Regions from separate parts of the Homo sapiens genome. Here all the other regions are linked to region 1. Evidence: promoter capture Hi-C in 16 types of primary human blood cells and fetal thymus (Javierre and others, 2016). All regions are on one chromosome and are shown on one strand. The core of a region is centred on a gene start or on the middle of the fragment in contact, and the rest is flanking DNA. Distances in the headings are between cores, read along the strand shown. Region 1 holds the start of SYK (spleen associated tyrosine kinase). Region 2 has its middle 170 kb from the start of LINC03062. Region 3 has its middle 87 kb from the start of MIR4290HG. Region 4 has its middle 110 kb from the start of MIR4290HG. Region 5 has its middle 130 kb from the start of MIR4290HG. Region 6 has its middle 6.9 kb from the start of NFIL3. Region 7 has its middle 150 kb from the start of MIR4290HG.

Region 1 (4,383 bases), core at 771-3,270:
ACCAGCAGGGTCAACATGTATGTTTACCTTTCTAAATTCTGAGCAATGTCTTTCTCAGTTCTGAAATTTAGATTCTAAATTTTAATTCCAAATTCTGAAAAAGCTTGAATTCCAAAATACGTCTTGGCACAAGCATATTGGATTATAACCATGGGCAAACAATGTGCTAAATAAGTGAAGTTCTACTAAGAAGTCTTCCATTAAAAAAAAGCAGAGAGATTAGACCTGCATTTAGAATATTAAATAGGGGCCTAACAAAGATCAGGGTGATTCATTTCTAAAGTGAAATCTAGCAATAAAATAACGTTTCTACCAATTTCATCTCTCAGGAAAGATAAAGACCTAAAGTATACACCCCATTTTTATCCTAGCTTAAAACTTTCTAGTTATTAAGACTATTATAAAATCCTATTTTATATTTCACTTCAAATACAGAGGCTTAAAAAAAAATCTTCCCACAATCCCTCAGTAGAAAAATCTCTTTTTTCCTAGTGTTCAAATCCAACCTTTTCAAATCCAAGGTAGAAGAGTAAGAGGATAAGACACAAATCAAGTAATTTGATTATAATCTCTCATTCAAATACACTTTAAAGTGCACTTCAAATACAGGGGATAATACAAATCAATTTCTGTTTTAATGCAAGAGTTTTCTAAATACGTTAAAACAAAAGTGCCGTTCAGAACAAAAATGATTTGATAAAATAATTTCAACTGACAAAGATTTCTCACTTAAAACACTTAATAATTTACATGTATTTAAGCCTTTTTGAGAAAATATAATTCTATCTATGCACTGCTCGGACTTTCACTGGGGAGAAGGAGGACATCAATGTATTTAGTTGCATTTAATTAAAATGCTGCCTGTGTGAAGGCAATGAATTTGTCCCTACTAAGACAAAGAAGTCAGATGGTAGAATCAATTCCATTTCTTCCAGGAACTCTTAGGGATTAAATGGTTCCTTTTTTTATTTTTAATACCAAGAATCAGATATGGCACAACATCTTCAACTCTTTTTTTTTTTTACTACACGCTGCAATGCTTTGAACTCTACTTGAGTTCGACTGAATCTTTGCTAAGTCAGGCAAAACTCAAAAAATATTTTGCAACACTGTTTCCAACGTAAAAAAAGATTCAAACTCTCACTTCTCCAATTGTCTTTCTAGTCCTTGAACATTCCAACAAAAGAATGGATTGCATTTATATAGTTTTTAGGTGGGCTTAAGGTTTTGGAGCCACATTGCCAAAAACAGACAAACAGACAAAAAGAAACACCCTTAACTCTTAACTCAAATTTACATTTTACTACATAAAACTTTCTTGCTCTCCAAGTTCATTGGCTAAGTAAATTACTTGACAATGAAAATGTATCCACAAGAGTAATTATGCTAAATTTTAGTAGTGGTTCAGAAGGGTTGTTGTTTGAATGCAACTGCTGTTTCTTTTTGTAGTAAAAGATTTGTCTAAGCTCATAAGACGTCTGGACATTTCTACTTTGAGTAACTTTGATAAACACTGCGGCATTTTCCAGTGGATTCGTGTAAATGGCCAAAGGAAAATGTTCTAGCTCCAAGATCGACTTCCTCGCGCTGTGCCTGATCCCAATCCCGCGTCTCCCGAGGGCCGGGCCGCGACCGCACTTTCCGCGCTCCCTGGGGGCCTGGGCGCCCTGGGGTGCCCGGGTCACTTTCCGCACGGTCTGACCTCCGTCCCCTCCGCCCAGGCCTGAGCCCCTCTCTCCCGGCGCAGCTTCTGGATCCCGAGCGCGGGTAGGTTCAGGAGCGAAGCTGGCGGAACCCACCTGTATTTTATTCACATGGTTTCAGCACTTTTACCTCGGCCGATGAAGGTAGAACAAGAAAGGGCATGAAAGCAGCGCGTCGTTCCCCGTAACCTCCTCTCCTTACCAGAAAGTCCCGGCCGGGTAGGGGACGCGGCCACACCTACCTGCGCCAGGTGAGGCGAGGGCGGGCGCAGCGCGGGGCCACCCGCTCCTCCTCGCTCTCCAGCCGCCGCCGGGGTGGCCTCAGCCGCCGGGCCCGCGGCTCTTCCTCATTTTGGGCAACTTCCTTAACGCGCCCGGGCAGGCGGCCCGCACTTCCTCCCAGTGTCGCGCCCCGCCGCCCTGGCCCGCCCTGCTGACCGCGCCCATGAGCCCGGAGCTGGGCGGGAATCGGCTGAAGCGCCGGGCGAGGCCCGCGGAATCGGCCCAGGCGGCGGCAGGTGTAGAGGAGCCCGGGTGGGGCGCGCCTCTCTCCTCCCGCCGGACAAGGGCCCTTCGCAGGCAGAGAAGGTGGGGCTGCCCGGGACATGGACCGCATCGGTCCCCCTCCTCCCCGCCAGCGCGGTGGCTTCTGTGACTGCCCAGGACCCACAGACACCCAGCGGCCCTTTCCTTTTGCTATGCAGTGCCGGGGAAGAGACTCCACTGCATGGCATATTCCCTGGAGTGTATCTTGGTCACCAAACCAACAAGCTCCAAGCTACTGTGCTGGAGCACTCGGGAGGCCTGGGCAGTGCTGAGAGGGACCCTGTAGGTGAACACCAGACTTCACGGCGCACTAGTGGGCAATGGGGCACGCTGCTTCTGAAGGCTTTAATTATTACAAAAGGCTTTGCTTCCTTCTTACCATGACGGCTCTGACGTCCACAACCAAATAAATTAAACCTATAGCCCTAAGAATGGTTTTGAGATACCCGCCTGATACCCTTCTCCCAACCCATCCCCCTTTTCCTTTTGGACATTCCTCTTTAAAATGTTCCCACAAAACGGCATCCAGACCTTCTTGATAACACTGGTTGGCAGTGCCTGTTTTAAAAAGCTTTACCCTAAGCCAAAATGCGAGAAGCAAAAAAATATATATATAATGTGCTGGATTGTAATTGCCATGGAGAAAATATAGGGATGGGACTATTTACACTTATTGGAGCCCCCAGCCTTTTCTGCTTCCAGGGTTATTGGATTTTCATTCATTTTTGCCATTATTTTTTCTAAACCTGTTAAAAGAAAACTTCAGCAGAATTAAATTTAAAGCAGTTTAATTGAGTAATGAATGATTTGCGAATGGGGCAGCTTCCAGAATCACAGCGGATTCAGAGACTCCAGGGATGCCTCATGGTCAGAACATATTTATAGACAAAAAAAGGGAAGTGACATACAGAAATTGGAGGTAAGGCAGAGAAACAACTGGATTGGTTACAGGTTGGCTTTTGCCTTCTTTGAACACAGTTTGAACACTCAGCAGTGTATGAATGGTTGAAGTATGGCCACTGGGATTGGCCAAGACTCAGCTATTGTTAAAGGCACATACTCCTAAATTAGGTTTTCAATCTTGTCTGCCTATTAAGCTAGGTTACAGTTCATCCACAAGGACTCAAATATAGAATACAGAGTCCTTCTCAGATCATACTTAGGTTGCTTTAACAAACATAAATGGAAGATTTTGATAATGGTTATATTTGCTTATCATTGGACTTAATTTTGCTTCAACTACCCGAAAAAATAGCCATTGTTCCTGAGATGGAGCCTGCAGAATGTCTACAGATGGTTTTCAGAGTTGTCAGCATTATTGGAGATGAACACTAGGGGACCAGTGTGTACAAAGCAAACCCAGCCTGCACAAAGATTGCAGTTTTCTCAGGCTTTCACCTGATGGAAATGAGGGGGAAATTCTAGATCCATCTACAACCTCCTTCCTTTACACTGCTGTGTTCCTTTCCCCCTTTGAGTCACCTTCCGCATTACTTAGTATCATGTAGTAATTTTTTTTTTTTTTGAGACGGAGCCTCACTCTGTTGCCCAGGCTGGAGTACAGTGGCCCGATCATCTCAGCTCACCGCAAGCTCTGCCTCCTGGGCTCACGCCATTCTCCTGCCTCAGCCTCCCGAGTAGCTGGGACTATAGGCGCCCGCCACCATGCCCGGCTAATTTTTTGTATTTTTAGTAGAGACGGGGTTTCACCGTGTTCGCCAGGATGGTCTCGATCTCCTGACCTCGTGATCTGCCTGCCTTGGCCTCCCAAAATGCTGGGATTACAGGCGTGAGCCACCATGCCTAGCCTAAAAGATGGTTCACATTATGTATCATCAGGGAAATGCAAATGAAGACAGTAAGATATCAGTATGGCCCAAATTCGGAACACTGACCGCAGTGAACACTAGTGAGGATGTGAAGCAATAGAAATACTCATTCATTGCTGTTGTGAATGCAAGATGGTACAGCCACTGTGGAAGACAGTTTGGCAGTTTCTTATGAAACTAAACATCCTCTTACAACATGAGTAATTATAAGAGGATTGTCCTTCTTGGTATTTACCCAAAGTAGTTGGTATTTACCTAAAGTAGTACCCAGTAATTGTGCTTCTTGGTATTTACCCAAAGGAGTT
Region 2 (4,383 bases), core at 1,087-3,586, 990 kb after region 1:
TTCAAGCTAATCTTAGGTGTCATCAGAGAATGTGGACATCTTTGCTGAGATGTGAAATGTATGCAAGCCCTTAAACCCACAGTGGTTCCTGCCACATGGTACCACGCTGTTCACTAAGTCTGCGGCAGCCTCCCCTGTAAAGCTGGTGCCTGCTATCAGGTGCTGTGGCAGTTCAAGGAGAGGACCAGCCCTTGTGCACCATCACATCCTGATGCATTAACGCAGGTGGTAGTTCTGCCTTTTGATCTCAAGTCCAAGCAGGAAGGAGGCGTGAGGGCCATGCCTCTCAATGGCGGAGAATACTGAGTGTATTCTTTAGGGTCCACCAGAGAAACAGAACCAGTGGGTGTGTAAACACAGGGAAAGAAGAGCTGGGTCACATGAGTAGGAAGGCTGACACTTCCCCAGATCTGCTGTTTTCAAGGTGGAAATCCCTTCAAACTTCCAGACTGAAGTCTGGCAAGCTTGAGACTCAAGAAATTGATGTTCAGTTTGAGTCCGAAGACAGGGGAAGATCCACGTCTCAGATCATGCAGTCAGGTGGATATTCCCTCTTACTCAGCCATTTTGCTCTCTTTAGGATCTCTGTGAGCTGGATGAGGTCTCGTCCTTGGGGAGGCCCCCTGCTTTACTAAGTCCACCAATTCAAATGCCAGTGTCATCCAGAAACACCCTACGCACATGCCCAGAATAATGTTTGGCTAAATATCTGGGTACCCTGTGGCCCAGCCAAGTTGAAACACGAAATTAACCATCATACAAGGTATGTGAGAGGTCACGGGATGCCCCCAGATGCAATGCCCTGGGCAGGGCTGGGGGGTTCACTGGGCGTCTGAGTGGCAGCAGGATCTACAGGTGGTATACACTCTGCTAAGGGAGCAGCTTCACCTGTCAAAGCTCCTGGCCCCAGGCAGTTCCCAGGAGCTGCAGCCATACCGCCATGGTCACCTTACCCCGGCACAGCCACGTGCATTCAAACTTTCCAGACCATTCCCTCAAGACTGCCCTGGAGCTTGTGTGACCAGGTACTGCTCTGAGCTGTGTTTCCACCTGATGTAGCTGTGGTTCAAGGCAGTGTTGGCTCGTGGGGCTCAGCCACACCTTGGAGGTCAGAGGTCAGCTCCACCAGCCACCTGGCCACCTGCCATCCACATGCCAGGGTAGTTGTACCCCCGTAACCCACACGCTCAGCAGCCACTTCTCCAAATGTGCCAGTCTTAATGGAACACAAAACACTGATGGCCTGGATTGGGCTTGGGAGACTTCTCTGTGACTCTGCATAAATGTATTCCAGCCTCTTACAAGATTTGGAAGGCTTGAGGTTCAAAACATTTTCTCCCTAGTTCTTTCTCAGCACTAACTTTTCAGGGCCCTTCCCTACATTTCACCTGGACCCTGAGGAAGTCAGCACCCCAGGCCAAGTGAGGCTTCAACCTCCTGTCCAGTTGTGGAGCAGAATGTACCCCACAAAAGGGACATCCGTATCTGGAAGGTTCCGTGGCTTCCCCGGGCTTGAGAAGCTTCATCTCCAGTGGAGATGGTTGAGAGAGGTAGTGAGGGGCTTCTTTCAGGCTTTGTGTGCAGAGAAAGCCTCTCATCCACCAAGATGAACGTTCAGACGGGTTACACCATCTGCAGCAAGCCTGTTGCAAGAAAGCATCCGTCTGGCTCCTGCAGCGCACATAGCAGTCTGCATAGTGAGCCTGGGTGCAGGTGGGCATGGGGGCTGCGGTGCTGAGCCCAGCCTCCATTCCCCCCTACAGCTGGGCTCCTGGAGGTGGGGGCACCGTCCTCCCGCACAGCAGAGTCACAGGATGTGTGTTTGATTTCTACCCCCTGTTATCTGAAGGGTTTTATGTCTACTTTCTCTGTGGGTGTTTCTTCTCAGCATTAGAGACAAAAAGCAAAAGTAGCCACACCTCATGGCTGGAAAGAGACAGAGATTGTCAAGCCTGGCCCAGGGCTCCCCACCTGGGACTCCACAGGTTCCCCATCCCCGGCCCTCCTCCCCACCCCACCATCTCTTCTTCATTCTACCTTCTCCACCCCCATCCCCTCCTCCTCCCCACCCCAGCTCACCTCCCCTACCTCCCCCTCTCTTTGCTCCCAGCCCTCCTCCCTGGCCCCAATTCCCCTATCCCACCCTGCACCTGGAGAGGAAGGTGGCTCTGTGCCCACACCTCATACCTGGGGAGGGGATCCCTGGCTGTTGCCAGGCCAGCCTTGCCCGCACTCTGGAAAGGGGCAATCCAGCATGTTCTCTGCAGCTGCCTGGACATATCTGCTATCTGTGGTCCATTACCCTGGTGACAGGGCCACCCAGCTTCTGCAGTGACGGCCCCTGACTACCCTCCCACATGAAGCCCTCTTCCCCTGCCAGGGCTGCAGCTCCCTCGAAGCCTAGAACTGTCCATCCCCATGTCTGTACTTCCAGCCCCCAGACCTGAAACCAACCTTGAAGTTCCTCCCCTGCTCAGCTCCTCCTCACTGCTGGCCACCATCCCAGGGGCACCAGCCACTTTCTTGAGGCCAAACCCCTGTGCTGCCACCCCTAACTTCACCTTTTGCTGCTGAGAGGTGCCTCCCCAAAAAAAGGAATGGTCAGGCTCCAGGACAAATTTCCTGGAAGATGGACAAACAAGGGCTCTTTGAAATGTTTTAGGTGGCAGTCCATCCAGATGAAAAACAAACTCAATCTCCAAACTTCACTGAGCCCCTCTGATGAGGCCCAGTGCCAGAAGGGAGCAAAAGTGTGTTCAAGACCACACCTATGAAGTGCGGGGCAGCACCAGGCTCCGGATTCCTGCATCCAGACATCTCTGTTACTTTCTAACAAAGCAACAGGTCTCCATAGGATTCAAACTCAGGTCTGCAGCTACAGCAAGCAGGGAACCCCTCATTTGGCAGGAGATGCTCAATGTGACTGAATGGATGAACTTCCTTCTCTGGATCACCCAGGGATGGCCCCATGCATTTGTGGATTTAGCTTCCAGACTCCTGCTGTCCTGCCCTCATGCATGGCTGATGATTTGAGCTACTGATTAACACTTTTTAAAGTCAAATTTCTCGGCACATGTCAGGGTGGGAAATTCTATCTGTCCTCCATATGCCGGGCATCATTCCACAGCAGCTGGTTGGGAAGGAAAGCTTAATCTCTCGGAACCTGCATAATATCTTTATAAAGGTACAGCTGGGCGAATGTCATAAAAATGTTCAGTTGTGGGTGCTGGGATATCAGATGCCTTGCGTGCCTCTTCACTGCCAGGACACACTCCAGGAAAACCCCTGGTGTGCTTGAGGCCACATGACACACAGAGAATGCAGGCAGCAACGCTTTGCCTTGGAAAGCTGAAGCATTTTCTATCTTAATCCCGGAAAAAAAAATTAAAAAACAACTGCCTTGAGAATGTGATGGATACTGCCCCTACACCTGGGTGTTTAGCCGAGATTTATTTAGAGTTTAGGAAAAGTCACTTGAATGATGAGGGCTTTTGTTCATCCCTTCATTTCTCTGAGTGACTATGGAACTCATATATCTGTGTTTTCCCACTAGGGTTGTCTATCCCTGCCATTTGTTTTTTCTTTGTTATTTCTACAGAGGCAGGGCTGACTCTTGCCTTAAACACTTTTGACGAATATCCCTGGAGCTAAAACCAGGGGCGCAAAAGCCACACCCAGGAACCAAGCTCCTGCTGCCTGCTTGGGTAACCATCAAGTTCATTTTGCTCCCTGAATTCCTGCCATGCACTGGGTTCATGCATTGTTCTTTGCAAACATATGAGATGGGGTTATGCTCAGGCACATGGGCAATCAGCACCCACTAGATATGACAGGTGAATCTATTATCTGCTCCGCATAACACATTCCCCAACACTCATAGCTTAAAACAATAGTCTTTTATCACCTCTCACAGTTCCTATGGGTCAGGAATTGGGACAGGGAGTGGCAGGATGGCCTGTCTTTGCTCCATGGTATCTGGTCCCTCCACTGGGGGACTCAAAGCAGAGACAGGAACCATCTGAAGGATGTTTCCTTGTAGATCTGGTGGCCCATGCTTGTTGTCAGTTTTTGGCTGGAATGCCCACATGTGGCCTCTCCTTGTGCCCTGGGCTTCCTCAGAAGATAGCAGCTGGGTTTTAAGAGCAAGTGTCTTAAGAGTGAGAGAGACAAGAGACCAAAGCAGAAACTAATGACTTTGATGATCTGGTTACAAAAGGCACACACCACCACCTCTGCCATATTGTATTGATTCAAACAATGACAAAGGCCTGCCTAGGTCCAAAAAAAGGGAACACAGCACCCCGCACCCAGTGGAGGATGGGCTTTAGATAGGTATGATCATCTTTGGAAAATACAGTCTACCACAATGGCAGACAAGCAGAG
Region 3 (4,383 bases), core at 981-3,480, 670 kb after region 1:
CCTGGGTGCTAATGTGTCAGTTAGGCCAGGCTGCCTCCCTTCCCTCTCCTCCTTCATATGTTATCTTCATGTTGGGTTTCTCCTTCCCCGTTGTGCATGGTGTCTCCTGTGTAAATTATGCTCAGGACTGTTCTAAAAGGCCATGAAAGCAGTTCTAAAGTGAACATTTTTCACGTCCTGATGCCTGTCTCCTGATAGCTTCTCCTTCCTGTCCAAATATTAAAGTAGTTATCTGCATTCATTTCAGCTTCCTCCCAATCTGTCCTCCAGCTCTGCAGTTTGATTGAAATTCTTCTTCCAGAATTGGACAGAAACCTCAACAAGGGCAGAACTTTCCCCAGCCCTCCTGCTCCTTTCCTCCTCTGGTGACTAGGCACACACGCAGCCTCCATGGATCTCTGTTTCGTGGGTTCTCCTCCATTCTTTCTGCCTCCTTTCTTGACCTGCTGCCTCTTTTGGTCTTCTTATTGCATGGTCCCCAAAGCCTCTTTCCCTCATTTCCTGAATATTCTCTAATGGAATCCTGCCAAATCCCTGCCTTTCCCTGGATTTCACTCCTGAGCACCCAGCCAGAACTTTCCTGTTGGTTTAATCATCTGGATGTGCCAGAGTGCCACCAGCTCATATACCCTCCTCTCCATGAATCTACCTTGCATTGAATGGGCCACTCCGCAGCAATGCCAGCCTGTTTTCTCTCAGCAAACATGCCCTCTGCTCTTCTGTTTCCAGAGCCGAGCCATCTGTCCTTCAGATATGGAAGCCAGAAGATCACTTCCATCGGCACAATGTCCACTTTACTGCTGACCATAAGACGAGTGGTCTCTGTGTTTGCTAATCTGTGTTATCAAGCTGTTCATGCATAAGGACCTCCATGATGCTAGATTCCATCCATTTGCACACAGTTTACCACTCCATTACTAGTTATCACTGCAGAAAGAACTTGGTCCAGGTTCTATTCCATCTGGAGCATAATTTTGAAAGACCTTCATATTCCCAGACAATCAGTCCTGAGGAATGAACAAATACATGCCCTCTATGGCCTGAGATGGCCACTAATAAGGGTCAACCCCACATGGCTGGCGCCTAGCTACAAAAGAAGGTCACACTAATCAAGGCCAGGTAGTGGTCAGACAGGAGGAGCCCAGCCCTTCTTGGGGAAGGACATGCAGACCTCTGGAATTAGGTCAGAGTGAGAGAACTAGATTGTGGGTTGTTATACAACCACAAATAAAGAGGAACAATTCCCAACATGTCATAAATAGCAACTGAAAACAAATATGTCAACTTCGATTTCCTGGGAAATACTGTCCTTTTTATCTGCTGTTTATTGTGTGCTCCAAAACGCTCGCCTGAAGACATTTTTAAAGGGATTTTTTTTAGAGTACTCTAAACAATGTAAAACTGAATACATTCTATATTTTCAACCCCTATGCCAATCTTCAATTGGAAAAAGCTTTCAGGTTAATCAGCAGGAATGTTCCCAATTCAACAGGCGATTCAGTGACTGTTTATATGGGTTGCTTTTTATAGCACACGGCTTACTATGTACATGGGCAGTGGGAACAGTAGTCCATACCAGGGACAGAGCATCCTGTCGCTGGCACTGAGGAGCCTCCTCCAGGAGAGGAGAAGGGCTGCTTTCCCACCTATCTCTTCATGCCTTGGGGCAGGATGTGGGATTTGAGTTGCTTCTCCATTTATGGGGACAGGTCACACCAAACTTTGTGCACCCTCTTGCCCTGCCCTGTTTGTGATTGAGGCACTGACCGGAATCATGTCCTTCATCACACCCAAACCCTTGGCACTGGGGACCTAAGAGACCCTCTGAGCCCCCTCCTTTCATGTGTGCTGGGGGGTGGGGAGGCTGCTAAACTCATTCAGAATAGAGAGGCTGAAAACCTCTCAGAATGGCACTGTGAGATCAAGCATTTAATCCTACCTCCTTCGCCCACATAGAAATCATAGGTAACACAAAAAATAAGGTAAAAACAGGCACACATAGTTTCATGGATCAGAAATGGGTCAGAAACATAGAGGGAAGCTTGAGGCCTGAGACAGCAAGCTGCAGCCTCATAGCCTTCAGAAGTGGAAAGAGACAGAGGTGTGATCTCTTACACTCCTGAGAGACAACCACACTGAAAGCACGCTGTTTGTGTGGAGGATGAGAACTAGGTGTACTGCATAAGGCTGCTGAAGCTAGCGCTGGTGACACAGGCCATACCCGGGGAGCGGAGGGCACAGGCTGCTCAGCAGACACATGCATAGTGCCAGGACCTGGCCAAGCCACTGCTACCTCGAGAACTTGATCTCAGATATACTGAGTGTCACTCCAGGACAGGAAGCTCAGGCTGTCCATACAGGAACTGTGGCCTTTATGAAGCCATAGGGATAAGGTGATGAGAGCAATAATGAAGCTTCTAAAACATCTGGGGTGATTACAGAGAAAAAACTAAAATTTCTTCTTCAAGATGCATTTGCAAAATAAAATTCTGACCACACAGCAGAAACCAACACTAACCAGGCAGCAAATACAGCAGAGTATTCACTCAAGACTAGCAAAGTAGCCCAACACAGCTGTATATTACAGCTGTAATATAATTTTTTCATATCTTCTGAAAGACAAAAGAGGGATATAGCTGCATTGAAAAATATTATGAAGGAAAGCACAGGGAACATGTGTACCTAAAAAGTAATCAATTAGAAATGTTAGAAATGGCAAATATAGTCATTGAAATTTAAAAAACTCTTGAAAGACAGTATAAACATTATCTATCATTTTTCTCTTTAAAAGAAAGAATATTCAGGCCAGGTGTGGTGGCTCACTCCTGTAATCCCAGCACTTTGGGAGGCCGAGGTGGGTGGATCACGAGGTCAGGAGATCGAGACCATCCTGGCTAACATGGTGAAACCCCATCTCTACTAAAAATTCAAAATAATTAGCTGGGCATGGTGGTGGGTGCCTGTAGTCCCAGGTACTCAGAAGGCTGATGCAGGAGAATGGCATGAATCTGGGAGGCGGAGCTTATAGTGAGCCAAGATCGCACCACTGCACTCCAGCCTGGGCAACAGAGCGAGACTCCATCTGAGGGAAAGAAAGAAAGAAAGAAAGAAAGAAAGAAAGAAAGAAAGAAAGAAAGAAAGAAAGAGAGAGAGAGAGAGAAAGGAAGGGAGGGAGGGAGGGAGGGAAGGGAGGGAATATTCAGTAAATAAGAAGATAAACTAAATAATATCTGCCTACACAGCACAGAAAGAGAAAACAGTTGAAGATATAAACTCATGTTTGAAAAACTCACTGAGAATTTTTCAGACTGGAGGAAGAAATGAATAACAAGGTAAAGAAAAATTAGCCTAGTCATATTGGGGTAAAGCAAAAGGCTATTAAAGAAAAAAAAGTTTTTAAAACTACCAGAGAAAAAAGACCCACAAAGGACTGGCAATTAGCAGATTTGTCATTAGTGGCAATAGATACCAGAAGACAATAAAATCATTTCAGTCTTAAAATCACCACTTCCAATCTAGAATTCTGTATGTTGAATAGAAAGCATTAACCAGAGAAAAATCTGTTGAACAGGAGAAGGGAAAAATGCATCAGGATTAGAGAAGAGAAACTGAGAATTAAAATACATAAATTCAAGAGAATCTAATCTTGGAAAGGGAGAGAAAAAGCAAGGAGGGAAAATAGGCGAAACTGGAGAGTGCCTCTCATTCTTTTCATCACTATAGAGATGGTCCCCAACAGCATATAGCGTCTCATGAAGCTTTATTACATATTCACGCTCTTTTTGACCTTGTAACTTGACCCTGCACCTTACTATAAAAGCATTATAATAATAATATGTCCACATGAAAATGAACCAAACAATATTTGGGAATTAAGCAGCACTCTGGAGAAAGGTCTAATTTGGAAGACGTTCATATCGTAGACCCAGAAGGAGATCATAAGGAAATGATATAATGTATGTGGCAAAAGGGGTAATTAATTCTCAGTGCTTGCTCACCTGCTTCATGTTTAGACAGAAACTTCAGGGCTCAGGGACAGGAAAATTCAGCTGCTTCTCTCCTGGGGCTTTGTGGAGGATTCAGAGCAATGCAAGTAGCCTGTTGTTTGAATTGCATTCTAGGGTCAGGGTTTGTCAAGAAATACAGAAGTAGAGAGCGTCATTGTTAACCCTGTACCTACTTAAACTATCTTTCAAGAATGAGGATGAAGTAGAAACATTTTCAAACATAGAAAGATACAAAGTAGATTAACATCCAGAAAACCTTCCTAAAGAGAGGGTAGAGAGTTCCAGAGAAATGAGTGAAATACAGGTAACACAAGAAAGAAAAGATTTTGTAAACCTTTTTGTAACATCTAATGAGCTCATCATAGTTTAAAAAATA
Region 4 (4,383 bases), core at 663-3,162, 650 kb after region 1:
CCCACATAAATACAGTCAAATGATCTTTCACAAAGGGGCAAATATAATAAAGCAATGGAGAAAACACAGTCTTTTCAACAATTGGTGCTGGAACACTTGGACATTTACATGCAAAAAAATAAATAATGAGTCTTGACACAGACACCCTTCACAAAATTAACTCAAAATGAATCACATAAATAAGTATAAAAGACAAGACTATAACACTTCTCAAGGGTAACTTAGAAGAAAATCCAGATGACTTTAATTTTTGTGATAACTTTTTAGATAAATCACCAAAAGCATAATCCATGGAAGAATTTATAACCTGACTTCATTAAAATAAACAAAGTCTACTCTGTAAAATACACTGTCAAGAGAATAAAAAGACAAGCCACACACTTGGAAACAATACTTGTAAAAGAGACATCTGATAAAGGATTGTTATCCAAATATACAAAGAATTTTTAAAACTCAACAATAAGAAAAAAATCTGGTTTAAAAATGGGCCAAAGACCTTAACAGACACCTCAACAAAGAAGAGATACAGATGGTACATAAGCATATGAAAAGATGTTTCACATCATATGTCACTGTGAAAATGCTGATTAAAACAATGAGATACCACTATACACATATTAAAATAGCTAAAATCCAGAACAGTGACAGAAAATGATAATGAGGATGTGCAACAACAAGAATTCTCATTGCTGGTGGGAAGGCAAGACAGTATAGCCACTTTGAAAGATAGTCTGGCAGTTTCTTACAAAACTATATACACACTTACCATAAAATCCAACAATCATGCTCCTCGAGATTTTACCAAATGATCTGAAAACTTACATCGACACAAAAACCTTCACACAAATGTTTATGGAAGCTTTACTCAGAATTACCAAAACTTGGAAACAACAAGATGTCCTTCAGCAGATGAATAGATAAGTAACCTGTGGTATATCTAGACAATGGAATATTATTCAGCACTGAAAATAAATAAGCTATCAAGCAATAAAAATACACTGCAAAATCTTAAATACATATTAACAAATGAAACAATCCAATCTGAAAAGGCTACATGCTGTATGATTTTAACCGTATGGCATTCTGGAAAAGGCAGAACTACAGAGACTATAAAAAGATCAGTGCTTGCTGGGGTTGTGGGGAAGGAGGGATGAATCAGCAGAGCACAGGGGATTTTTAGGGCAGTGGAACTACTCTGCCTCTTAATGGTGAATAAATGTAATTATACATGTGCCAAAACTCAAATATACAATACCAACAGTGAACTCGAATGTAAACTATGGATTTCAGGTGATAACGATGTGTCACTCACTGTAGTTTAACCCATAGTAACAAATATTCCACTCTTGGTGCAGGATATTGATAGTGATAGTGAGGGTGCAGGATATTGATAGTGGGATATTGATACAAATATGTGGGGAGGGGTACATGTGAAATCTCTGTATCTTTTGCTCAATTTTGCTGTGAACCTAATCTGCTCTAAAAATAAAGTCTATTTTAAAAATATATATGGAGAAACCTTAAAAACATATGCTAAGTGAACAAAAGCCCACATAAAAAGACAATACACTGTATAATTCCAACTATATGACATTCTGGAAAAGGCAAAACTATGAGGACAGTTAAAAAAAAAAAAAGTTCAGCGTTTGCCAGAGGCTTGTGAGAGATATAAATAGTGAAGCACAGGGAATGTTTAGGGCACTGAAACTGTTCTATCTGATACTGCAACGATGCACACATGTCACTGCACATTTGTCAAAGTGTATAGAACACACAACACAATGAGCAAACCCTAAAGTCATCTATTTACACTATTTAATAATAATATATCAATATTAACCCATCAATTATTTTTAAAAGTACCACCCTAATACAAAATGTAAATAATAGAGAAAACTGAGTGTGTGGGGGGGATTAGGAACTTTCTAGACATTCTACTGATTTTTCTATAAACTTAAAACTTCTCAAAAAATTAAAGTCTTTTAAAATTATCTATAAAAATAAAAATAAGAATAGAAAGAAGCAGATAAGCATGACAGATAATGAAGAGAAAAATCAACCAATCAAAACTGATGCAGGTATTAGAATTAGTAGACAAGGACATTGAAACACTTATTATAAATGGATTGTATACATTCAAAATGTTACAAACATGAAAGACACAAGAACCACCCAATCAAACTTCTACAGATGAAAGCAGCATTGTGTAATGAAATTGTACTGAATTAGGCTAATGTGGATTAGATGTTGCAGAAGATTGACAGGTGAACTTGAAGAAATGAAAACAGAAATCAGTCCAGGCATGGTGACTCATGCCTGTAATCCCAACCCTTTGGGAGGCCAAGGTGGGTGGCTGACCTGAGGTCAGGAGTTCAAGACCAGCCTGGTCAACGTGGTGAAATCCCGTCTCTACTAAAAATACAAACTTAGATGGGCACAGTGGCACGTGAGAGGCTGACGTGGGAGAATCACTAGAACCTGGGACGTGGAGGTTGCAGTGAGCAGAGATCGTGCCACTGCCACTGCACTCCAGCCTGAGTGACAACAGGGAAACTCCATTTCCAAAAAAAGAAAGAAGAAAGAAAGAAAGAAAGGAAGGAAGGAAGGAAGGAAGGAAGGAAGGAAGGAAGGAATCATACAAAATAAAACACAAAATGAAAGAAAAAAATAAAAAATGTATAAAGCATCTATCAGCTATAGGAGTGTCAACTAGCCTAGTATACATGTAATCAGATCCCACGAATGACAGAATAAAGTGCAGAAAGAGACAAAAATATTGTTTAAAAAATCCCTTAAAATCTTATATATATATGATAAAAACTAAAATTCCACAGAAGCAAACAAACTTCAAAAACAAGATATGAAGAAAACAATAGGAGTTTCAGTTCTTTGACACCTTTTTTGAGAGGCCAGAAGACCATTTCCCAAGGAAGGGACTCAGATAAAACAAAAGTTTCAAGCTTTAAGATCAGGGAGTCAATTTCTATGATAAAACAAACAAACAAAAACTATCTATGGGGCTATTAGGTTGAGTTTCAAAATCATGGCAAGACAGGCATGTCCACATTCACAACTTCTATTTAACATTATACTTGAGGTATACTTGAGGTTTCAGCCAGTGTAGTAAGATAAGAAAAATAAATAAAATGCATTTATATTGGAAAGAAAAACATAAAACTATCATCATTCACAGAAGCATGATTATCTATGTTAGAAAAGGTAATGAAATATACAATTCTACAAAAGTAATAAGTGATTTAACAAGATTCAGGATACAAGATACAAAAATCAATTGTCTGGAAATACAAAGAACCTAGACCATCCAAAACAACCTGAGAAAAGAATAAAGACAGAGGAATCACAATATAGAATTCAAAGAATTATTATAAAACTGCAGTAACCAAGACAGTGTGGTTTCAGCAAAAACATGAATACTCTTTTCAGAAAATCATGTTGGAATAATTTTATATTCATACACAGGAAAGAAAAATTGGCCTATAATTTGCTCCATAAAAAAAGAACTCAAAATTGTTAATAGACCAAAATTGTTAATAGACCAAAACTGTAAACCTAAAACTATAGAACATTTTAGAAAAAAAAATAGGAGAAAACCTGTGACTTTGGCTTAGACAAAGATTTCTTAAATACGACACCAAAAATAACATCCATAAAAGAACAACTTGATAAATTAGTTTTCACCACAATTAAAACTGTCTGTTCTTCAAAGGATACTCTTACAGATACTGTCAAGAGAATGAAATGACAGGCCATAGACTAAGAGAATACATTTTCAAAACATATATACAGTAAAGAAGTTTACTCAGTAAATATAAAAAAACTCTCAAACTCGATACTAAAAAATAAATAACCTAATTTTTTTAATGGGCAGAAGATTTAAACAGATACTTCACCAAAAAAGATGCATGTTTTGCAACCAAGCAAATGAAATATCATTAGTCATAGGAAAAATCAAATTAAAACCACAATGAGAGGGTAGTATGCACCTAATACAATGGCTCAAAGTAAAAGCACGGACCACACCACATATTGGAAGAGGTAAAGGAGCTGGAACTCTCCTGCTGGTAGAAATGTGAAATAGTATAACTGCCATCAGAAACTTTCTGTTGATTTATGAAAAGGTTAAATGTTTCACATTGTTAAAAAGATTCTACATGTAAGTGAGATGTAATGTTTTTCTTTCTATATAAAAAAATGCAAGTATACAGAGACAGAGAACAAAATAGTGGTTACCAGGGGCAATGGGTGGGGGGCAGGGAGACATGGGGGTCGGGGGAGTGGTAATGGGGAGATGTAGGTCAGAGGATACAAAGTAACAGATATGTAGGATGAACAAGTCTAGGGATCTAAGGGAGAACATGAGAA
Region 5 (4,383 bases), core at 978-3,477, 630 kb after region 1:
AAATCCCTGCAGATTAAAAAATCTGACCCGTCTCATTACTGCCACGCACAAAAGTTCTGCAATGACTAACTCACCCATGCCCATGGAGTTAAGGATTGATGTTTTACTGCCTTACACTTAAATAAAAACCAACAAATAAGAGTCACCAGAACTTGAGGAGAACCTTTAACAAAACCTCTAACAAAAAATATGGAAATGAAGACAAACAGAAAAAACATAGAAAACTCAGAAGAGAGATATTGTAGGGAGCCAAAGAAATCTTCAAATTAACAATAATTCTACTCCTAAGCAAGGCAAAATAAGATAATGTGTCCTTGGAAAAAGAAAGATGAAGACATGGGTTTTGGGAACCAGGATCCAATGTAGGAGAGCGGAAAAGGGAATTCCCAGGATGAAACTGGGATGTCCAGGATTGAATCTGTGCAGTAGGCCTGTGACATCAGAGAAGGGAACAGGGGCTTTTGAAGAAATGTCTCCAAGGGGGAAAAGTAATCTGACAGCTTAATTAATATGTTTGACTTTATTTGAAGGAGCTTTTCAGTTTAATCAAAGGGTTTAGGAACGATATACACATTGGGATTCATAGACTCTTAAGTGTTTCTATTATCTACAGTTGTGTAACAAACCCCAAAGCTCAGTGGTTTAAAATCATAACTTATTGTTACCTCTCAAGCTTCTGTGGGTTGACAGGGCTTGACAGGGCTCAGCAGGGCTCACTTGAGGGCCTCTCCTGTGATTATAGGCAGATATTGCTGAGGCTGGAGTCACCTGAAAGGTCAATGGCTGAAGATACCAAATGATTCACTCACATGTCTGTGCCTGGGTGCTTCCTGGAACAGCCAGAGAATGGCCAGTCTTCCGTTTCTGTTCACACAACCTCTCCACATGCTGACTTGGGCTTCCTCACAGCATGGCTGCCAGGCATCTCTTTCTGTGCACACAGTCTCTGGACATGGTAACTTAGGCTACCTTCCACTACAGCTATGGGTGGGAGGGTAGTCTCAAGGTAGTCATAATCCATCACAGCAGCTTCCTCCAGTGTATTCAAGGCACCTGCAAAGTGCCTTGTGATGTAGCCTCAGAAGGCCCGGAAGGTCACCTCCACTACACTCTTTGGTCAAAATCTAGCTCTGATTCAAGAGGCAGACTACACAAAGGCAAGAAAACTGAAAGGTGTAGTTCATTGGAGGCCATATTTGTAAACAAGCTCCAGTATTAACTGAATAATCAAATAATACAATTACCCCAAAAAATATAATGTTAATGTGAAAGAATATGTACATATGATTGCATAGATTAGGACAATTTTTACAGGAACTAAGTAAACACTAAATATTGATTTAACTTAAAAAAATGCTGTGGTTATACTGACAGAATGGGGTTAAGGATGGCATCTGTGAGGGAAGGGAGGTGGAGTGCAGCATAGAGGACCCAGAGAGGATGATGCCAGGGAGACCAGCAGGGCCCAGAATTGAGGGGGCCCATTCTCAGGTTCACACAGGGGCAGGGCGAGCACCGAGTGACCCCTTCTTCCATTCTGCTCCAACACCGTAACTGCCTTGTATTAGTCCCTGCCTAAGCAGTGAGAGGAGTTTATTTCTGATTTTCACCTTCCATGTAAGAAATCAGTAGGCCATAATAAAATTTAAAAATTAAGGAATATGGGTACAGGGTTTCAGTTTTAGAAGATGAAAATGTCCTAGAGATGGAGGGTGGTGATGGCTGCACAACATGTGAATGTACTTAATGACAATAGGCTGTCCACTTGAAAATGGTTAAAGTGACCAATTTTATAGTATGCATATTTCACTCTCTATATAAGTAGCATCTTATCTAGCATTAAGTAAAATATTAATATATTTAAATTCATCTATTTGAATATTTTTAATGGTTTTAAAAGCTTCCAACAGAAATAAAGATACCATGGGGAGAGGAAAATCCAGGAATATCTAATAAGGTATGTTATCTAAGTAAAAAAAAAAAAAAGGTAAATAGCTAAAATGGTTGAAAATTGCCTTCTCTAGAAAGAGAGAATCAGTAGTATGGCAAGAGATTACTGTTTCTTGTTCCAACATTTGTGGCACTGTTTAAGAATTTAAGCCATTTTCATGTATTACTTTGATAAAAACAAGAACTTACAATGAAAGTTAAAACTAAATCATTTGAATAGTAGGATAAATCATCCTGGTTTCTATACTTTATCTCTAGGAAAAACAAATGACCTGGATAATCTAGAAAGGGTTAATTTAAACTTTTGACTCCATTATCTCTGCTATTTACTTTCACTTACGTGGATGCTATTTCAAGGGCCTACTCCAGAACAATGACCTTCACTCTCTGGAAGACACACCTTGGTAGATGTATAATAATTTACAGAAACAAGCAAGTTGAAGAGCACAGTACACGATTCATAAGAGCAATGGGCAGCACTTAGAAAAATAAATAAATCCTTCATGGTAAAATAAGATGCTTTTCCTCATGAATTTCAAGTTTTTTTTTTAATGACAGTTATAGTGGATATATGCATTTTACTAAGAAAAAAAGATAAAGCTTCATAAACTTGCTGAAGGAGATACCAATTATTGTGATCAGTCGTATGCCATGAATCAATCCCTAAATATCATAAATCCACTCAATAAAATGGAAGTTTACCCGAATCTAGTTGGATTTTACAACATTTGCATGGCTTGGTGAATTATACCTGAAAGAATTGTGGAGGGTTTTATTACTAACAATGTTTCTAAGTGTCACACTAGGGAAGAGCACATTCTTTCTAGAGTTGATTTACCTCATAAAAGTCTATTATCTGGGAAGAGGATTGTCAATCACAAGTTGCACTTTATTAATTACTAAGTCAAACTGAAACTTTATTCACTTAATGTGGTCACAAAAACATATTCCTACCTGAAATTGAAAGGATTTAAACACAATATAGCATCCAAATATATACATTTTATAACAGTCTATTAATATTTATCATTGTCAAAAGAACATATTTCCAGGGAGACATATAAACAAACGGTACTAAACTAAGTTATATTTGCCTGGCTTGAGTATCTGTATAATCTATTCACAAGCCTGTGTAAATTTTCAATTCCAAGGGCTATATGGTTTTCATTAATAAAGGGAAATTATACTCTTTTTTACAAAAATTTTAACTAGTAAATCTCAGTACTATTCTTCCCCTGATTAAAATGGGGCAAACACATTCCAGTCTGTCTCTCCCACTGAATACAATATTGACAATAGCAAAGAGGTGGAAGCAACTCAAATGTCCATCCAGGGATGAATGCACTGCAAATGTGGTTATTAAGCATGCAACGGAATGGTATTTAAAAAGAAGAAAATCCTATTAACTTTCTCCAAAATGAATGAACCTGGAGGACATTATACTAAGGAAAATGTACCAATCACATAAAGGCAAATAATATGTGATTCTACTTATACGGAGTATCTAAAATAGTCACATTTCTAGAGACAGAAAGTGGAATGGTCATTTCCAGAGGATAGAGAGAGGGATGAATGGGGAGTTGGTGTTGAATGGGTACAGAGCCTTAGATTTGCAGGTGAAAAATTCTGGAGATTGTTGCATACTTATGTAAAGATACTTAATACTGCTGAACTATACACTTTATTATGTATGGTTAAGATGGTAAATTGAATGTAATGTGTTTTTAACTAAAATAAATAAGTAGTAAAGGGTAGCTGGCAGATTGAGAAAGTAGACCAAAATTCCAAGTACCACAAAGCTGGTGGAGAGTTTCCCATTTTTTCTCTAATATTGCCCAGCCTAAACTCAAGGGATCCTTAAGCTCAGAAGTGGGAGCTAGAGCATGGAAACAACGAGCTCCAGGAAATGCACAGCAGAGTGGTATAATTGACACTCCAGTTTCTGGCTAGGGTGCAAGAGGACTGCTGCAAAACCAGAAATTACCAGGGAGATTGTGGAGAGGAAGTAGCATGAGAAAAGATTCCATAAACTTGTTTATGAACTCTTGGCCGCATCCTCAGGAATTGCACAAATGTGGATCTGATCCTAACTAGCAGAACAAAGCCTTTGAGAACTAAACTACAGGATAAAACAACACACAGGTCCTCGGCTGGTCCCTGGGTGGTGCATGCACAGGAAATGTCTGAATGTAATGCAAAGTCTCTGATAACTGGACTTGTATAGGAATCAAAATCCAGAGGAGGCCAGTAGGAACCTGCAGCCTGAACCCAAACACGTGTGATGTCTACCAGAACACATATATGAACTATCCTGATAAGATATAAACAAGATCCAGAGTTTCATAACATAATACCCCAAATGTCCAGGATACAATAAAAACTTACATTGCCTAAAAAGAGTCAAGAAAATCTCAACTTGCATGAGAAAAAGCA
Region 6 (4,383 bases), core at 515-3,014, 630 kb before region 1:
GATAAATATTTTTCAGTAACAAGAAAGTTTTCTTTCCTAGTCTGCAGTTCAAAATGTTTTCCTTTTATCACATCAAAATAGCTATACTTCTGACTACTCTCCAGCTACTTTAGCAATATATATCATACTCCAAAAGAGTACTAGAAAAGACCTCCCTAAGACCTTCTCACACTAATGCTTTACAAATCAACCTCCCATTTCTTTTCAGCTCTGCCTTTGCACAGCAGAATTAAGATCTGGCAAAAAAAAACCTAAACAACTTCACTGGAATATATAGGTTCTTATGTGTCAGCAACAGTTTTCATAATACTGCAAAAGATAAGAAAATGGACAATTTCTCTGCAAGACTGAGAGTCATCTTTCTCTGCTACTTTTCGTGAGGGACATGTTTTCAGGAAACCTATTTTTGGGACTATTGCTGCACTTTGAATCTTTGACAGGTTCCGAAAGAAATTGGCTGGGCCTGAGTTTCCCAGAAACCGGAGCCTGAATCAAATCTCCTGTGCTAAGCCTTTCTTGGGAGGTACAATTCTAGAACTGCAAGAGTAGGAGGAAAAGAAGAGGAGACAGAGAAATAGGGGAAGTACATTTATAAGGACAAGGTACACTACCAGGTTGACTACAGTGCCCCAAGACAGCACAGACTGTGGCTGGGATTTGGGACATCATGCCACTAAACATTGTAGAGAGGAGGTATTTATCTACTGGTTCCATCCCATCTCCTGTCACTCATGGCTCAGAACTAACCTGACAGTGTGCCAACTACCCTACATCATGGGGTTGTGTCACCTGCCCCGGTAGCCCCTGGGAAAGACAGGTTCCTGGCCCTCTGTGCTTGTGTGAGTTCCTAAGTGATGGGAGGTGCCCATCTGTAAGTTCTGTCCATCTTACTTGCAGCAGCAGGAAAGCATTGGGAACCCAGGAAGACCCAAGTTAGCTGCTGGTGGTAGAAGAGGGAAAGGCGTCCAAGACAAAGCCTGTCCAGTAGCAAGCAAGAGAGGCTTGGGACAGGTGAGGCAAAGGGGATCCAGGAAGGAGACACACTGGGACTTGCAGAGAGGTCATTTTTACAAAGGAAAGTGGTGTTTTACTTATGCATTAGGGGGAAAGTCTTGTGTGGCCTGGGTCATTGAGCAGCACAAGTCCTGCACTGGGAACCATCCCAGACAGCCAGGAGCAGGAACAGAAGCAAAAGGAACTCTGGAGCAGCATAGCCCAAGTACAGACACTCCCTGAAGGCCAAAGTCACGTCGGCTTCCACTGTGGTTAAACTGTTCAAGTCAAATTCCACTTGCTTCTAGTCTCCAGCTGGCTTTCTCTCGTGGGATGAATACACACCCTTTGTAATAGCACAGGAGAGCATGTGCCAGTGCATCCCTAAGCTCAGGCTCTGTTCCCGTGACACCTTTCCCCTCTCCACGGAATGGTAGAAGGATGAAACATCTTAATATATGTGATGCGCCCAAGACGGTGTGTGCATGCTGTGGTGTTTGAGCAGTATTTGTTATTATTCTTACTGTGTAGAGGAACTGAAGCATATATAGCATATGTAAAGTACTATTGTGCTGTTTCTCAGATGAAGAAACTGAGGCATCAAGGTTTCACGTGACTTACCCATGGCCACCCAGCTCTAGAGTCCAGGCTTTGAACCATTTCCCTACACTAATTCTTAATGTGTGACATTTGGGGGAAAAAAAGCATTTAAAACAATGTGTTTTAAATGCTTGAATAACGTACTGCCTGAATAACGTACTGGTTGGTTTTGCTACTCCAGGTCCCCTAGGCCTGGGCCTGGTCTACATTTCCACACTGCTCTCCCATGCCGACTTTGCAAAACCTGGGTTTCCATCAAGCTCTCTGCCAGGACTTGTCACTCCCCAAGGTTCCCTTGGTCACCAACCACACTGGCTTTGCTAGGCCTGGCTTTATGTGGTACTCTTTTGAGGCATGATTCCTGCCTGTAGAATACCCATACATCTTTAAGACTTTGGTCATAATCCCAGCACTTGGGAGGCTGAGGTAGGAGGATCACTTGAGGCCAGGAGTTTGAGACTAGCCTGAGCAACATAGTGAGATCCTGCCTCTACAAAATGTTTTTTAATTAGCCTGGTGTGTTGGCATGCACCTGTAGTGCTAGCTGCTTGGGAGGCTGAGGCAGGAGGATTGCTTGAGCTCAGGAGGTCAAGGCTGCAGTGAGCTATGATCATGCCACTGCACTCCAGCCTGGGCAACAGAGCAAGACCCTGTACCAAACATTTTTTTTAATAAAAAAGAAAAACTTTGATTAAATTATACCCTCTTTCAGGAAGTACTTCTGCCTCTGCTTCAATGGAATGTGGGTCTCCTCTCCTTCAAGCCCCTCTTGGTACACAGTCTGGTCTTTCCAGTGACAGTTACCACACCGCGACAGTATTCGAGTTATGCTTTTAACCCACCATCCTCATCTTCCCATTAACCTCTAAGGGCCTGGCTTAGTTTCTGGCCCCTGCTAAGTAGTCAGTAAACATGTACCTTAAGTGAGGGAGTGAGTGAATGAGCGCCAAGTCTACAGCAGGCATGGGACATCACTCAACTGTTCAAGGGATGCCTGGCACCCAGCAGGTGCTCCATAAATGGAAGAATGAATGAATTCTAATCCCCATCCACCTCTGTTATTCTTTCTTGTAGATGTACATGCTCACTTGTTCATCTGAATTGAATAGGATCCTGGCAGCGTAACAAGATTTATTATGTATATGTAATTAATATGGACACGCACACACATACGCATGCACAGGCACAAGTATTTGGTTGATGATACTATTTTTCTGATGTATGTTGATTCTTTTTTGGGTTAATAATAATAGCTAACACTTGCTAATATATCAGGCACTTTCCTAATCAGTTAATAGGTACTAATTTTATCCTCAGAACAAGTTGAGATTGATACTATAATTATAAATGGTTGTCAAAAGGTGAAAGTGAGGCACACAGCAGACGAGAAAAGTAAGTTGCCCACAGCCACAGAGTTCCTGAGTGGCTGTGGGCAAGCTGGGATGTGGACACGGGCCTCTGTATCTGGGTCTTCAGCACTGGGCTCTACTGCCTGCAATTCCTGGTGACTGCCCGAGAGCTGGCTCTTTTATCATCCTGCCAGTATGCGGACTCACAAAATCCTCCACAGACCTACATGCACCGCCTGAGAGCAGCATCACACAGCAGCAGCTGAAAACACAATGGCACCTGAATCTTGAGCACTTCTGAAAGTTTCTCAGAAGACCAGAAATGCGGTCAAGCACCCAATTTCCGGACTTCTTAAGTGCATTTACCAAACGGAGAGCATTCACTTTAATCTCTTGCTGAAACAAACGACTCCAGAAGACAACTTTTGTCTCTGGAGTGACAAAAGTTGGTGGGCAACTCAACAAGGTAATTTTCTCTTGTCCATGTTACAATTAGGCCAAGGGAAGGTTATGAATGAGCCAGTGCTTGCCATAGCTGCTTTGCTGCAAATGCCACATTTGCAGTTTTTCTTTTCTGCAATATATGCTGGTGGCATGTTAGTCAACCCATGCTAATGAGAGAAGGAACGTGGCCAACCATCTGGTTGGCTCCCTCGGGTTTCAGATGAAGGAATGGACATTCAGAGAGGTGAAATGATCCCCTTGGTGAGTATGGGGTACAGAATGCACCAGAATTTCAGCTTCTGAGTTGCAGCTGTGTAGCTCTTTCCAGTAAACTATCCTGTGCATGACTTCACAGAAATGTTTAGATAAGCTTTACTTCGTTGATTTGAACTGGATTGCAATGTGGACCTGTCTTGTCTTATTCTTCATGAAATGATTTTTGTTAGAACATATTTCACAATTTTCTATTTCATATACTCATAGCCCTGCTAGCTGTGTTCCAGTTGCTGGCTGAGTGCTGCCACAATGCTTGCTCCATCGCCAAGATTTTGCAATGAACACGATTAGCTGCTCCCACAGTCTTGACCATTTTTAGTGTATTCTCCTTTTTCCTACCCACCTTTTTTTGTTAATGTCCCTTATTTTGGCACTCTTACTCACATATACCATTTAATCTGAATGAATAAAAATGCTTACTGAAATGTGTGCCATCTGTGGTGGCTGAATTTAAAGACATGTTTCAGTTTTTGTAATAGTGTACTTGCAACATTTTCTCTTCTTTGCAAAATCACCTCTTTCTGGTCTTTTCCTGGGTCCTTTGGAAATGCTTTCAAATGTATTCAGACCATCAGCTGATTTTGTCTGGGGAAATCATGTCGTTGGTGTAGAGATCTAATTTCTTTCTTAGCTTGAGCAAGAGCTGCTTAATAGGAAACATTTTGGCTTCCCATACTTTAAAGCCATCGCTTCTACAGGGAATGTTATGTGACCATCTTCT
Region 7 (4,383 bases), core at 968-3,467, 610 kb after region 1:
ATTGCACTGTGGTCTGAGAGACAGTTTGTTATAATTTCTGTTCTTTTACATTTGCTGAGGAGTGCTTTACTTCCAACTATATGGTCAATTTTGGAATAAGTGCGATGTAGTGCTGAGAAGAATGTATCTTCTGTTGATTTGGGGTGGAGAGTTCTGTAGATGTCTATTAGGTCGGCTTGGTGCAGAGCTGAGTTCAATTCCTGGATATCCCTGTTAACTTTCTGTCTCATTGATCTGTCTAATGTTGACAGTGGGGTGTTAAAGTCTCCCATTATTATTGTGTGGGAGTCTAAGTCTCTTTGTAGGTCTCTAAGGACTAGCTTTATGAATCTGGGTGCTCCTGTATTGGGTGCATATATATTTAGGATAGGTAGCTCTTCTTGTTGAATTGATCCCTTTACCATTATGTAATGGCCTTCTTTGTCTCTTTGATCTTCATTGGTTTAAAGTCCGTTTTATCAGAGACTAGGATTGCAACCCCTGCCTTTTTTTGTTTTCCATTTGCTTGGTAGATCTTCTTCCATCCCTTTATTTTGAGCCTATGTGTGTCTCTGCATGTCAGATGGATTTCCTGAATAAAGCACACTGATGGGTCTTGACTCTTTATCCAATTTACCAGTCTGTGCCTTTTAATTGGAGCATTTAGCCCATTTACATTTAAGGCCAATATTGTTATGTGTGAATTTGATCCTGTCATTATGATGTTAGCTGGTTATTTTGCTCGTTAGTTCATGCAGTTTCTTCCTAGCCTCAATGGTTTTTACAATTTGGTGTGGTTGTGCAGTGGCTGGTACCGGTTGTTCCTTTCCATGTTTAGTGCTTCCTTCAGGAGCTCTTTTAGGGCAGACCTGGTGGTGACAAAATCTCTCAGCATTTGCTTGTCTGTAAAGTATTTTATTTCTCCTTCACTTATGAAGCTTAGTTTGGCTGGATATGAAATTCTGGGTTGAAAATTCTTTTCTTTAAGAATGTTGAATATTGGCCCCCACTCTCTTCTGGCTTGTAGAGTTTCTGCTGAGAGATCAGCTGTTAGTCTGATGGGCTTCCCTTTGTGGGTAACCCAACCTTTCTCTCTGGCTGCCCTTAACATTTTTTCCTTCATTTCAACTTTGGTGAATCTGACAATTATGTGTCTTGGAGTTGCTCTTCTTGAGGAGTATCTTTGTGGCATTCTCTGTATTTCCTGAATTTGAATGTTGGCCTGCCTTGCTAGATTGGGGAAGTTCTCCTGGATAATATCCTGCAGAGTGTTTTCCAACTTGGTTCCATTCTCCCCGTCACTTTTAGGTACACCAATCAGACGTAGATTTGGTCTTTTCACATAGTCCCATATTTCTTGGAGTCTTTGTTCATTTCTTTTTATTCTTTTTTCTCTAAACTTCTCTTCTCCCTTCATGTCATTCATTTGATCTTCCATCACTGATACCCTTTCTTCCAGTTGATCGAATTGGCTACTGAGGCTTGTACATTCATCACATAGTTCTCGTGCCTTGGTTTTCAGCTCCATTAGGTCCTTTAAGGACTTCTCTGAATTGATTATTCTAATTAGCCATTCGTCTAATTTTTTTTCGAGGTTTTTAACTTCTTTGCCATGGGTTCAAACTTCCTCCTTTAACTCAGAGTAGTTTGATCATCTGAAGCCTTCTTCTCTCAACTAGTCAAAGTCATTCTCTGTCCAGCTTTATTCCATTGCTGGTGAGGAGCTGTGTTCCTTTGGAGGAGGAGAGGCGCTCTGATTTTTAGAGTTTCTATTTTTTCTGCTCTGTTTTTTCCCCATCTTTGTGGTTTTATCTACCTTTGGTCTTTGATGATGGTGATGTACAGATGGGGTTTTGGTGTGGATGTCCTTTCTGTTTGTTAGTTTTCCTTCTAACAGTCAGGACCCTCAGCTGCAGGTCTGTTGGAGTTTACTGGAGGTCCACTCCAGACCCTGTTTGCCTGGGTATCAGCAGCGGAGGCTGCAGGACAGTGGATATTAGTGAGCAGCAAATGTTGCTGCCTGATCATTCCTCTGGAAGTTTTGTCTCAGAGGAATACCTGGCCATGTGAGGTGTCAGTCTGCCCCTACTGGGGGCTGCCTCCCAGTTAGGCTACTCAGGGGTCAAGGACCCACTTGAGGAGGCAGTCTGTCCATTCTCAGATCTCCAGCTGTGTGCTGGGAGAACCACTACTCTCTTCAAAGCTGTCAGACAAGGACATTAAGTGTGCAGAGGATTCTGCTGCCTTTTGTTTGCCTATGCCCTGCCCCCAGAGGTGGAGTCTACAAAGGCAGGCAGGCCTCCTTGAGCTGCGGTGGGCTCCACCCATTTCCAGCTTCCTGGCCGCTTTGTTTACCTACTCAAGCCTTGGCAATTGTGGGTGCCCCTCCCCCAGCCTCGCTGTCTCCTTGCAGTTTGATCTCAGACTGCTGTGCTAGCAATGAGCGAGGCTCCGTGGGCATAGGACCCTCTGAGTCAGGTGCAGGATGTAATCTCCTGGTGTGCCGTTTGCTAAGACCGTTGGAAAAGCACAGTATTAGGGTGGGAGTGACCCAATTTTCCAGGTGCCATCTGTCACCCCTTTCTTTGACTAGGAAAGGGAATTCCTTGACCCCTTGTGCTTTCCGGGTGAGGGGATGCCTCGCCCTGCTTCAGCTCTCGCTCGGTGGGCTGCACCCACTGTCCTGCACCCACTTTCTGACACTCCCCAGTGAGATGAACCCAGTACTTCAGTTGGAAATGCAGAAATCACCCATCTTCTGCGTCACTCATGCTGGGAGCTGTAGACTGGAGCTGTTCCTATTTGGCCATCTTGGCTCCACCCCCCAGTACCACGCTTTTAAGGATTCATAGAATAACCAGAGTGAAGATGTAAAAGGAAACACAGGACTTAAATAATTCCAAGACCAGTTGAATCTAACAGAAATACACAGAACACTCCACGCTGTAATAGCAAAACAGACATTCTTTGCAAGTGCACATAAAATATTCTCCATAATTGACCACATGATAAGCAAAAACAACAAATTTTAAATGATGATAAATATTAAAAAGTATGTTTTCTGACCACAATGGCTCAAAATTTCATGGAATTTTAAAAGAAATTTTTAAAATGCTAAAATTCACAAGCAATCTAAAGGTACTCTGAAATAGCCAAAACAATCTTGAAAGGAACAAAGCTGAAGGCCCCACACTTTCTGATTTTAAAACTTATTACAAAGCTACAGTAATGAAAACAGTATGCTATTGCCATAAAGACAGAGCTATAAACAATGGAACAGAATACAGTCTAGAAACAACTCCTCATGTATATGATTAAACAATCTAACAATCTTTGACAAAAGTACCAAGACCACACATAGGAAAATTAACAGTTTATTCAACAAATTGTGTTGGGAAAACTAGGTATCCACATGCAAAAGAATAAAGCTGGATGTTTACCTTACAGATTTACAAAAATAAACACAAAATTAACTACAGAACTAAAATTAATACCTAAAAGTATAAAATTTCTAAATGAAAAAATGGGAGAAAGCTTCATGGCATTGGATTTGGCAGTGAGTTTTTTGATATAACCCCAAAAGAAGAGGCAAAAAAGTAAAAATAGACAAGTGGGACTGTAGAAAACTTTAACTTCCGCTCATCATAAGAAGCAATAAAGTGAAATGTCAACCTGTGGAGTATGAAAAAAGATTTTTGCATTAAGCAAGAGGTTTCAGCAATCCAAATGTCCATCAATGAATGAAGGGATAAACAAAATGTGGTATATACATCAAGCAGGATCAAAGGAAAGAAACAGAAAACTTGAATACAGGTCCTTTGAAAGTACTGCGTCAGAGGGATAAAAAGAAAAAAGAAAAGTGAAGGAACCTATGGCACTTATGGGACACCATCAGGCAGACCAATAGATGCATTATGGAAGTCCCAGAAAGAAGACAAGCTAAAGAAAAAAGAAACAATATTACTACTCACAAAAATGAATACTGCAAAAAGAACAAAGCTGGAGGCATCATGCTACTTGACTTCAAACTATACTACAAGGCTATAGTAACCAAAACAGCATAGTACTGGTACCAAAACAGATATATAGACCAATGGAACAGAACAGGGGCCTCAGAAATAACACCACACATCTTCAACCATTGGATCTTTGAGAAACCTGATCAAAACAAGCAATGGGGAGAGGATTCTCTATTTAATAAGTGGTGCTGGGGAAATTGGCTAGCCATATGCAGAAAATAGAAACTGGACCCCTTTCTTACACCTTATACAAAAATTAATTCAAGATGGATTAAAGACTTAAATGTAAAACCCAAAGCCATAAATAAACTAGAAGAAAACCTAGGCAATACCATTCAGGAAATAGGCATGGGCAAAGACTTTATAACTAAAACACCAAAAGCAA

Evidence for each region. The method cuts DNA at HindIII sites, captures the fragments that hold promoters and counts their contacts. A CHiCAGO score of 5 or more calls a contact.
Region 2: a fragment that was not itself captured here is called in contact with the fragment with the promoter of SYK in region 1 in 1 of 17 cell types (fetal thymus); the score reaches 6.2 in fetal thymus.
Region 3: a contact is called between a fragment that was not itself captured here and the fragment with the promoter of SYK in region 1, in 1 of 17 cell types (total B cells). The highest score is 5.4, in total B cells.
Region 4: a contact is called between a fragment that was not itself captured here and the fragment with the promoter of SYK in region 1, in 5 of 17 cell types (total B cells, naive B cells, monocytes and 2 more). The highest score is 7.1, in total B cells.
Region 5: a fragment that was not itself captured here is called in contact with the fragment with the promoter of SYK in region 1 in 1 of 17 cell types (total B cells); the score reaches 6.2 in total B cells.
Region 6: a fragment that was not itself captured here is called in contact with the fragment with the promoter of SYK in region 1 in 1 of 17 cell types (neutrophils); the score reaches 6.0 in neutrophils.
Region 7: a contact is called between a fragment that was not itself captured here and the fragment with the promoter of SYK in region 1, in 1 of 17 cell types (naive B cells). The highest score is 5.3, in naive B cells.

What each region holds. Positions count from the first base shown.
Region 1 is chr9:90,799,456-90,803,838 of GRCh38, reverse strand. SYK (spleen associated tyrosine kinase) reads right to left here and starts at 2,020. Exons shown (of 14, transcript NM_003177.7): 1 at 1,946-2,020. RefSeq lists silencers at 1,882-2,041, 2,062-2,271. The HindIII fragment of the contact is 2,717 bases long and covers 106-2,822 here.
Region 2 is chr9:89,809,451-89,813,833 of GRCh38, reverse strand. No RefSeq gene overlaps it. Among named protein-coding and RNA genes, the nearest start is that of LINC03062, 170 kb to the right of the region's middle. The HindIII fragment of the contact is 1,627 bases long and covers 1,523-3,149 here.
Region 3 is chr9:90,125,979-90,130,361 of GRCh38, reverse strand. No RefSeq gene overlaps it. Among named protein-coding and RNA genes, the nearest start is that of MIR4290HG, 87 kb to the right of the region's middle. The HindIII fragment of the contact is 373 bases long and covers 2,044-2,416 here.
Region 4 is chr9:90,144,403-90,148,785 of GRCh38, reverse strand. No RefSeq gene overlaps it. Among named protein-coding and RNA genes, the nearest start is that of MIR4290HG, 110 kb to the right of the region's middle. The HindIII fragment of the contact is 2,101 bases long and covers 862-2,962 here.
Region 5 is chr9:90,167,614-90,171,996 of GRCh38, reverse strand. No RefSeq gene overlaps it. Among named protein-coding and RNA genes, the nearest start is that of MIR4290HG, 130 kb to the right of the region's middle. The HindIII fragment of the contact is 650 bases long and covers 1,903-2,552 here.
Region 6 is chr9:91,428,531-91,432,913 of GRCh38, reverse strand. It overlaps a transcript of NFIL3 not described here. Among named protein-coding and RNA genes, the nearest start is that of NFIL3, 6.9 kb to the right of the region's middle. The HindIII fragment of the contact is 3,988 bases long and covers 1-3,758 here.
Region 7 is chr9:90,190,611-90,194,993 of GRCh38, reverse strand. No RefSeq gene overlaps it. Among named protein-coding and RNA genes, the nearest start is that of MIR4290HG, 150 kb to the right of the region's middle. The HindIII fragment of the contact is 2,596 bases long and covers 920-3,515 here.